Linked DNA regions of Homo sapiens: all the other regions are linked to region 2. Evidence: promoter capture Hi-C in 16 types of primary human blood cells and fetal thymus (Javierre and others, 2016). All regions are on one chromosome and are shown on one strand. Each heading gives the region's core, a stretch centred on a gene start or on the middle of the fragment in contact. The rest is flanking DNA. Distances are from core to core; before and after follow the strand shown. Region 1 has its middle 5.2 kb from the start of CCDC80. Region 2 holds the start of CD200R1L (CD200 receptor 1 like). Region 3 holds the start of GTPBP8 (GTP binding protein 8).

Evidence for each region. Contacts are between HindIII fragments. The CHiCAGO score rates a contact against its expected background, and 5 or more counts as called.
Region 1: a fragment that was not itself captured here is called in contact with the fragment with the promoter of CD200R1L in region 2 in 1 of 17 cell types (M1 macrophages); the score reaches 6.8 in M1 macrophages.
Region 3: a contact is called between a fragment that was not itself captured here and the fragment with the promoter of CD200R1L in region 2, in 1 of 17 cell types (M1 macrophages). The highest score is 5.2, in M1 macrophages.

Annotation. Positions count from the first base shown.
Region 1 is chr3:112,644,683-112,647,970 of GRCh38, reverse strand. No RefSeq gene overlaps it. Among named protein-coding and RNA genes, the nearest start is that of CCDC80, 5.2 kb to the right of the region's middle. The HindIII fragment of the contact is 1,605 bases long and covers 728-2,332 here.
Region 2 is chr3:112,844,862-112,848,391 of GRCh38, reverse strand. CD200R1L (CD200 receptor 1 like) reads left to right here and starts at 1,528. Exons shown (of 8, transcript NM_001199215.3): 1 at 1,528-1,767; 2 at 2,442-2,713. RefSeq lists a silencer at 3,434-3,530. The HindIII fragment of the contact is 1,004 bases long and covers 960-1,963 here.
Region 3 is chr3:112,990,561-112,994,144 of GRCh38, reverse strand. It overlaps GTPBP8 (GTP binding protein 8), which reads right to left and starts at 3,161. Exons shown (of 6, transcript NM_014170.4): 1 at 2,810-3,161; 2 at 1,021-1,119. The coding sequence starts at 3,145. RefSeq lists enhancers at 2,904-3,113, 2,992-3,584. The HindIII fragment of the contact is 160 bases long and covers 1,480-1,639 here.

The sequences.
Region 1 (3,288 bases), core at 281-2,780, 200 kb after region 2:
CCCCCATCACACTAGCTGTTCCTCTTTCATGTCCTTTACTCTTTTTCTTCCTCTACCAGTCCCTAAGTAATTTCTTCTAGCCTTAGGCTTTAAATCAGGGGTGTCCAATCTTTTGGCTTCTCTGGGCCACACTGGAAGAAGAGGAATTGTCTTGGGCTACATATAAAATACACTAACGATAGCTGATAAGCTAAAAAAAAAAAAAAAAAAGTAAAAAAAAATCTCTATGTTTTAAGAAAGTTTACAAATTGTGTTGGGCTACATTGAAAGCCACCCTGGGCTGCATGCAGCCCATGGGCCACGGGTTGGGCAAGCTTGCTTTAAATAGCCTCTCGAATTTATAATTCCAGCCTCAGTCCTCCTCGAAGTCCAGACTCATGTATCTAACTGCTTGCTTGACATCTGTATCAGAGTGTCTGATGGGAATTTCAAACAAAACATTTGATTCTTTCTGCCCCAAACTGCTTCTGTCAGCTCTGTTTTCAAAATATATACCACATCGAGTGACTTTTCTGCACTTACCGTGCTTCTAGCACGCTGGTTCAATAGACTGCACCTTTCACTTGTACCACTACATTATCTTCCTCACCAGTTGGTTAACTGTTGTCATTCTTGCAGCCACACTCTATTCTCCAGGCAGCATTCCTAGCATTCCTGTTAAGTCACATATCAAGCTTTGCCACATCCTTGCTTAAAATCGGCCAACATTGCTCTTCTGGAACAAGCTTGTGAAATAGCCCGGGTGTCAGTGCCTGTGCACTCACCATTCCCTCTACTCTGAATGTTCTTCCCCTCCCCCAATACTTGAGTGACTTGCTTTCCATTCTCACTTAAAATCCTTTTCTTTGGATAAGGGTATCTAAAATGGCCTCTTCCCCTTCATCAACATTTACTCCCTCCCTTTAAAAAACAAAAAACAAAAAAACAACAAAAAAAACTCTTTCAAGTACGTATGTAGGCTTAGGTATTTTGTTTTTATTTTTATTGTCTGTTTCCCACCGTTGTAATGTAAGCTCCCGGGAGTCAGGGAATGTTCATTTATGTATCCCTAGTGAGTAGAATAGTGCCTTGCATTGAGTAAATATTTGTCGAATGAATGAGCTGCCATCCTGTTGGTTCACACTTTCTGATGTAAGGTGATATTCTGAGTGATGTGGTCAAGACCTGCCATGCAAGGTCAGTACAGTGAACCGACCACTAAAGGATAGGGCAATCCTAGCAGGACAGGTGCCGGGCCGAAATTGGGACTGGGAAAATGAGATACAACACTTGTCTGCCAGACAAGAGTATCTGGGACTCTAGGGGACTCCACAGCCAAAAGGACATACCAAGCAAGATCTTATAGGTGACACACAGTTGCTGCCATGGCAAGCCTCCTTCTGTGGAAAGCCTGCTCAAGGAATTGAAGAGGCAAATTCTCCAACAGAAATGAACTCTGTGCATACTGGCTGCAGCCATAGTCAGCACTGAACTTTTACATGCAGAGAAAGTTGGCAGCACTGCTGTGGAGAGTATAATATTTATCTTCTCCAATGGGCTGTGAACTTCTAGAGGGGAGAGTCTGCTTGGTTCTGTGTCATTCCCGGTGCTCAGTCTGCATTTTTGCCAAACATTTGAGAGAAGGATTGAAAAAAAGGAGAAAAAAATTATATCATCTTTATCTTCTTGGCCATACCTAAGGGCACGGAGAAAGGTACAATTGGAATGTTCTCCTTCAGATCCAATCGATGTAAATCTTTTGTATGCATTAAATAACCAATGATAAAGACTTTAAATCCACCCCTTCCAGACCCAAGCACTAGTCCCCCAAGCAGCAAATTCATATGCCCACAAGTTCACATCTTTTACATAAAATAACAACCAATAAATAATTGAACTTTAAATCATTCACTCTGGAGATTTAAAATGAATCTTTGGGCCATTCACACAGCTCCTTAATTTCTGCTAGGGCAAGATCTTTAATTTGTACTAGCTAGGAGATGGACATTTTCTTAATTAAGCAACCTGCTACAGGGACAAAAAGGTGCCTACAAGGTTTCCCCAGCAAACTCTAAGTAATTAAAAATAAATGCATAAAGAAAGAATATTAACAACTGTTCTCAAGAGCTTTGACCATTATCCCATTAGGTAACTTTTATTTTTAAAGTACACAGTTTCCTTCAATTTTGGATTAAACATGTGACTTTGTTGACATTTCATGGACAATACTAAGTGTTTCTTTTGGGGGTTACGCTTTCTCAGAACATCCCTGTGAGAAAGGAATAATACAGGGTGGTTGGAGGAGATTAGAAAATTCCAAGCAGCAGTTTCACATGACTAGCAAAATGAAGCTTGAAATAGCTTCGGAAGCTATGGCCTAATAAGATCCTGAAAAAACAGGGATCAAGAGGGCCAGGCGTGGTGGCTCATGCCTGTAATCCCAGCACTTTGGGAGGTGGAGGTGGGCAGATCACGAGGTCAGTAGATCGAGACCATCCTGGCTAACATGGTGAAACCCCGTCTCTACTAAAAATACAAAAAAAAATTAGCTGGGTGTGGTGGCGGGCGCCTGTAGTCCCAGCTACTCGGGAGGCTGAGGCAGGAGAATGGTGTGAACCCGGGAGCAGAGGTTGCAGTGAGCCGAGATCATACCACTGCACTCCAGCCTGGGGGACAGAGCGAGGCTCTGTCTCAAAAAAAAAGAGTAAAGAAAAAGCACCCAGGCTTATGCTTACAGCTTGTCTGCTGGGGATCCTGAACGATACACTGTGGGGGCCACATCCGTGACTAGCAATGACCCTTACTGGAACTATCAACAGGACCAGGTTGATCTAAGAAAAATCATATGGTGACTTGTTTGGTGGAGGGAATGAAACAATATACCACTAAGCCCGCGAACTGTAATAAAATAAGATAAATAAGAAAAGGATGAAAACTCAGCTTTGTTTCAGGGGCACCTTTGTGGAGGACCTAAGAACATATACTAACATTGATCTCAGTACTGACGCTGGCCAAATTTTTCTACAGACACACTTTATTAGCCAGTCAGCACCTGACATAAGAAGAACATTACAGAAATTGGCTTTGGAACTCTACACACCTATTAATGAAATGTTTGGTGTGGCTTTTGGGGTATTCAATAATAGGGACAGAGCTAAAATGGCTGAAATGACCCAGAATGGCAAAAAATGGGATAGACAGCCAGCCCAAATGATTAGCAGTCACTGTAAACAGTGCCCTGCAACCTCAGGGTCACCCAGGAAGACGCTTCACCGCAGACCAAACAGGCTCAACAGCAAACCTGCAGGC
Region 2 (3,530 bases), core at 279-2,778:
ACATCAACTCAAGTTTGTGATCATTTGAAAAGGATGTCCCACATCACAGTTCCAGTTTCAGTTTCACATTATAGATGATATTACTTCGGCCCAAGACTTTGACCTTGAAGATGAATTTGCCCTTTTCCCCAGAAACGACTTCACCCTGGACACTGAGACCACCACCCCAGCAACATCCATAGGCTGGCTTTCCTAAGGAGCTAAAAAATTGGACACAGGACATTTATCATTTTACTTCCTTTGATATAAGAAATTCTGTTTCGTTTCCTGAGTTCACCATTTGCTTAAACTCTTGTTCTTTGCCAAAGTGTACCCCTTTATACTTCCATGCCTAAAGGAAAATCTGGTAGAGTGTATTACTCTTTGAGCCATTCTAATAATTAATGAGATTATTGCTTTCCCCAGGAAGCAACTGCCTCATATGGGTTCACCACTTAACCCCCTGGAGAGAGGACCTCCCATTGCCCATTACCTCCTCTGACACTTTCCATTCCAGTTTGCCACCACAACATCCTGCCCTGCACCCATGACCCACAGCTGCTACCTCTTCCTCTAGGTTACAAACGTCATTAATCTTTACATATACCTTACTTAACTAACTTCATACTCTCCAAAAATATAATTGTTGGACCTGCCACCTTGAACCCTGGAATGTACCAAGAGATTACCGTCACGCACACAAAAATATAGCTCATGTTTTAACATACTTTAAGTCAATCAGGATATTGTTAGAGATCTTGGAAATCCCGGATCTGTTTTCTTGGCTAAGGCCATACAATGTGAAACTTGGTTATGAACCAGCCTACAAGGACTCTTTATACTCCTACTTGTTTTCCTCCTTTTTAAGGAGAAAATAATAAAATTTTTGTGTGTGTGTGCTATTTAGGGCAATGTATGCACTACTTACTAAAACTCTGCTCTACAACTTAGGCCACCCAAATAATTCAAGTAATCAAGCTTAACACTAATGTGGAGATCAAGAAGTCAATTTTAATATAGTTTTCATGTAAAAAAAAAATGCCTTCTAGTCCCAGTTTTGAGCCCCTAACAGTTAGCTCCCCTTCTTGAATATCTGATTTAAGTCCCCCCAGCCTCTTCCCTTATCTGGTTCTCACACTGTATGTCACTATATACCTGCCCTAATTGCCCAGGGCTAAGTACCAGACAACTACAAACAGCCCCATGGACAGCTATGTCCTAGAGCTTGTGAAGTTATTCAAATTAGCTAAGGCACAGGGTTCTCAGGAAACCTAATTCTACTCCAATTACCATATATAAGGTACTCTCTACAGCTCCAGTGTGTTGTTACCCTGTCCCTGTGTGCAACCACTGTGTGGCCCTACATGGAATTCTTCTCTTGTTTGGAGCTATAAGTAACAAAGAGGTTTGCCTTTCACCTATCCAAGAGTCTTCATGTTGTGTCCTGTCATCAAAAGAATCTTTAATCTTATAAAACAGAAGGGTAGAATCTTTGCTTCGGTCTTAGTTTCCAGTGGTTTCCTGGCAACCTTTGGTTTTCCTTGGCTTGTAGAAGAAACATCACTCAGATCTCTGCCTTTTATCTTCACATGGTGTTCCTGTGTATGCGCCCAGTTTTCCTCTTTTTATAAGGACACCATAAAAAGCTAAGAAGTGCAAAAGAAGAAAAAAAGAATAAACCAAAGACGCCAGTCATATTGGATTAGGGACCAATCTATTTCAGCATGGCCACATCTTAACTAATTATATCTCCAATGACCCTATTTCCAAATAAGGTCATCTTCTGAGGTACTGGGGATTAGAATTTCAACAAATAAATGTTGGGCGGGGGTTGCACTATTCAACCATGACTGAAAGTAGTTATTAAAGACACACATATGACTATCTTATAACCCAACAATTTAATTCCTAGGTGTATATCCAAGAAAATGAATGTACACATAGACCAAAAATTATGTACAAAACAAGAATGTTCTTAGAAGCTTTATGTTAGCCCCAAACTGGGATAATGTAAATCTACAGAGAAATTGATGAATAAATTGTGATATAGTTATTGAAAATTTACTATACAGCATTAAAAATTGAAATTTGCAAAGAATTTCATGCATGTGAAGTTCAAAAACTGTCAGAATGAATTAAAGCTATTAGAAGTCTGAGTAGTGTTTACTCAACTTCTCTGGAGGAGATGATATCAGCAGAGAAGGAACAAAGGACACTTTGGAACAAAGGACACTTTGAATAATAATTATCAACATCTTGGTTTTGGAAGTAATTAGATAAGCGCATATATAGGTAGAAATTCATCAAACCATACACTCAAGATTTGTTCATTTTACCATATGTAATTTATACTCTCAAAATGCTACTTTTTAAATGAGTTGTTATATAGTTTATCTTGCTACTTCAATGTTGTGGGAGAAGCAATGAGTAGTAAGCATTGGCTTTTTTGCTTTATTACACAGCAAAACTCACTGACATTTCCCATCAGTGGTTAATCAGTCAAAAACATATAGAATGACAGCAAAAATTAAAGATAAGCAAGATAATGAAGAAATATGTTTTGCAATCCTGTTGAAGACAGAATAAGCAAAAGTGACCAAGAGAAACAGATTCACCAAGTCTGTTGATTGATTTAAAGTGGATTTATGTTTAAGTAGAAAACCACTCCAAAAGCATACTTTAGGGAAGATGTCAGCTCCAAGATTACTGATTTCCATCATTATCATGGTGTCTGGTAAGTCTGATACTGTGACATTTTCAGCTGAAAATAAAGCTTTCTTTCAATGATTATGAGGATACTCTTGATCTACTTACTTATAAGGTGTTTCTTGACTTGTCCTAGCAGCAGTGATAAATGTGTACATTATCCAGCAAAACTCCTTCTGAGTTGCCTTATCCCAGTGGTGTACTGACTAGGTGACTGGCTGAATTCAGAGTAATTGGGGGCTGGGATTGAAGTGAAACTAAAATTTTGTGACCTAAAAGTGGTCCTGGGCTGCTTTTGTTGGTAGATTTTTAAAATTACTGATTCAATTTGAGAACTTGTTATTAGTTTGCTTAGGGTTTCAATTTCTCCTGATTCAATCTTGGGAGGTTGTGTATTTTCAGGAATTCATCAATCTCTTCTAGATTTTTCTAGTGTGTGTGCATAGAGGTGTTTATAATAGTCTCCGAGGACATTTTGTATTTCTGTGAGATCAATTGTAATGTCACCTGTGTAATATCTGATTGTAGTTATTTGAACCTCCTCTTTTTTTTTCTTTGTTAATCCAGCTAGTACTCTATTGACCTTGTTTGTCTTTTCAAGGAGTCACCTTTTGGTTTTGTTGATGCTTTGTATAGATTTTTGGATCTCAATTTCATTCAGTTCTGCTCTGATTTTAGTGATTTATTTTCTTCTGCTGGCTTTGGGGTTAGTTTATTCTTGTTTTTCTAGTTCTTCTTCAACTTCCTCTTCTTTTTATTTATTTATTTACTTATTTATTTTTGAGACGGATTTTAGCTCTTATTGCCCAGGCTGGAGTGCAGTGGTGCCATCTTGGCTCACTGCA
Region 3 (3,584 bases), core at 310-2,809, 150 kb before region 2:
GGCAAGATAGGCAATTTTTAAAGTTAAGTCAATTGTTTGGATCTTAGAACAAATATTATCAAAGGAAAGATTTTTATAAATGGTGATTTTAAGTTCCCAGTCAGTTTATTTGTCTACAGGAAAATGATTTTAGAATTACAGATTGGGAATGTCAAGAATACATTTCCTCCATTGTCCTCTCACAAAAGGAAGGAGATCACTCTACTTAGAAGTGATCATTTGGCTGATTTATTTGGTGAGGCGGGGCAGGAGTAAGGATGGGAGGGTTAAGTAATGGGAAGAATCATTAGCGATGGAGCCAGAGAATCATTTTATGAAGTGAGGAGCAAGAAAAGACCTAGTGAAGTCTCATGGAAGGGTTCCAACTCAATGAAAGGGGTGTGTGTGCGTTCGTGCACGCACATACACAGGGATAGTGAACATTAGGGTTGGTGGAAAGGTTTACCATGGCCAGATATGGTGAGACAAAGTGGGGGTGATTTTGAAGAAAGGGTATCTTAGATATTGGCAGAGACTGCGTCGTTGAGAAGAAAGTAGAGGGAATTAGAAAATGAAAGAAAGCTATTACAGCAGACTGGCTAGGAAAACAAGCACATAAGAATATGCCGAATGTGTGTGTGTAACTAATCACGTACTTTATACCTTAAAAAAGATTATAGGAGGAAAAAAGCAAGAAAAACCTAAAAGCCATTTACCGTACAATCAGTGTAGAACTAGATGATCACTGTTATAGGAGGAAATATAGAATGACAATAAGACACTTTATTTGGCAACTCTGCAAAATTTGGATAAAGAAAGACTTTCTGAAGATATTGTCTAGACTACTAAAATAAATCCAGCTACACTTCCTTTTCTTCAGAGGAATACACAGGCATTAGGATGTCTTACTTTATTACTTTTTTGAAAGAAATCACTTCTCTAGGAACTTAGTAATTATGATTTCTTATACCTTCCAGCATTTATTATTCATGTTAGTTAATCCAAGAGATAGTCCAAACATATTTAAAAACTTCAACATACTGGTTTTTTGGAGACTCTGACTTCAACCTCAGGGGCCAGTGAAAATAAAGCCTTGATTAGAGATGATTTTCCAACATTGCTTCTGCCTATAAAACACACCTTATACAAGAAAAAACAAGATAAGTACGTACTAGCTGTATATGCTATTCTGCATTAGATGTAAAAAACTTCAAATTCTAACACAGCTAATATTTATTGAATGAATTAAATGTGCCAGGTACTATTTTAAGCATTCAGCATATATTTTCTTATTCATTTTTTACAGCATCTAGGAGGTAGGTGATATTATCCCCATTTTACGGATGAGAGAACACAACTAACCCAAAATTATACAGCTAGAAAGTGAAGGAGTTGGGATTTGAACTCAGGACATGTATATCTAGAATCTGTGCTTTTAGTTTCACTACGCTACTCAAGAATATATGCAACTTTTATTAAGCATTTCATATTTACAAAGCTTTTTAGAGTAAAAACTAGATGTAGTTCAACAGAACTAGATGAAAAGTACAACTACATGTTTGGAAGCACATTTTCTCAAGCACTCCCATGGTATACTGTAACACCACTGCAATTTAAAAACTTACTCTTTTCCCTTGACCTCTCTTGTTCCAATTAAGCTTGTCTCCTCTGTAGTGTGGAAAACAACAGAATATTCTCGATAATAACCATTAATACACATGGCTCTGCTTTTGAACATGGTATTGGGGGAGGGGGTACAATGCCAATCAGTTGTTCTAAATGACGGCCGTACTGCCCCTTGAGGGACATTTTGGAGATTTTAAGGGCATTTTTGGTTATCAAGACAATTGGGGGACATTTAGTGGGCAGGGGCCAGGGATCCTATCCTGGAAAATTCTGGTCAGTTCTTCAAAATTAATTGATCTGAGTCCTGCAAAAATTTTAAATGCTCTGCCAGAGCAAATCTAATGCTAATATGTAGATAAAACTGAATTTTAAAAACGAATTACAAAAAAGTCCAGTAATTTAGAAGCTTAAATAAAAAAGCAATGGCTGTCTCAAAATCATTAAATAATTGAGGTACTCTTTGAATCCTGACTATAGTTCCACATATATTTAGACGAAATATCTCTGGGCAATGGTGCACTTAGTGTAAATACATATGGAGAGTTGAGATGCCTTTTAGCAGACTTAGAACAGAATATCAATAAATTGTAGGACATGCAAGAATGCTCACTCATGAAATTTCACTAATAAACGTTGTTATAAAAATTTTTCCACATTATTGCCATCTAGAGATTATTATTTTTGCACGATAGGAAATTTAGATTAGGCGAAAGTTACTTATTGATAAGGACCATCTCATTTGTGAAACTATTATTCGTTTCCTATTCTTCACTGTCTAAATTCTGTCTAATTTGTCTGGCATGTTTTCCCTACTTAAGTTAAATAGAAGAAAAAAGGAGAGTTAATTTTTTGAATGCTTAATTTGGGTTTGAAAAGCTTTTAAAGCATTTTGAAGTCTTCTATATTCATTCCAAAATAATTTAAGCTGTATACAGGCAGTCTCTGCTTACAGTGGGTCGACTTAACGATTTTTGACTTTACCATGGGTTTATGGGTATTGACTGCATTTTGTACTTAACAATGGGTTTCTCGGGTATCCCCACGTACAGGGAGCATCGACATATGCCTATTGAGTTAAAATAATATATGCGCCAACATAAAGCTAGAAAATACAACCGCAAAATCACCCGCGAGCCGGACGGCCAGGGAAGCGGTTAGCGCTGTGACGCCGGCGCGCAGGTGAACCGTGAGAATCGCCTCTCACCTCTGGCCGCGGAAGGTCCGGGGCGTGGTCGATACGGACGGCGGAGCTGACGTAGTCGATGCGGTTCCGTTCAGTGGCCGTGAAGATGTTGTCCGCCCTGGCTATGTCCTCCGGGCTTGGGTCAAAGATACGCAGGTGAAGGTCTTGCCTCCCGTAGGGGGCGAGGAACCGCTCTACTTCCTGCAGCGGGTACAGCAGCTTCCTCAGCTGCTGCTTCGGCAGCCGCAGCACCTCAGCAAAAGCTTGGGACGTGCTATTATAGCGGCTCAGTCGCTCTAGCACCGCAGGCATTTCAAAGAGTCTTCCCGCTCCCAGCCGCAGCCCGGGCGCCGCCATTCTCCCTTCCCAGAAGACGGGCAGAGAGATTTTACTCCTGTGGCCTGGGTTGCGCGTGCGTGACTTCCCGCTGCCGCGACGCCTGCTGGGAGTTGTTGTCTCCTCTGGCCTCGCTCGTTCCGGTCTAAGTGTTTTGCCTTCAGTGCGCGGGAGGAGGGTGGAGGCAGGCGGTGACCTGCGGGGAACAGCTCACTGGGTTTCTTTAACACCGTGGGCTTAACGATTATGTCTTACTGGAAGGATGTTTAACGGTTTGCAGAGGTGAAAGACCTATCTGGCCATGTGGCCTTTGAGTCTCAAGCGAAGGACTAAAGTGTGAAGCTCCGATGCATTCCAGGAACGTTTGATTTTCACAGTTTTTGGTTATCTTATTAACTGTTGACGTTTGTCGTAAGTCCGCAGCACTAGGATAAACACTTTTGCAAAAAAGAAAAGGGCT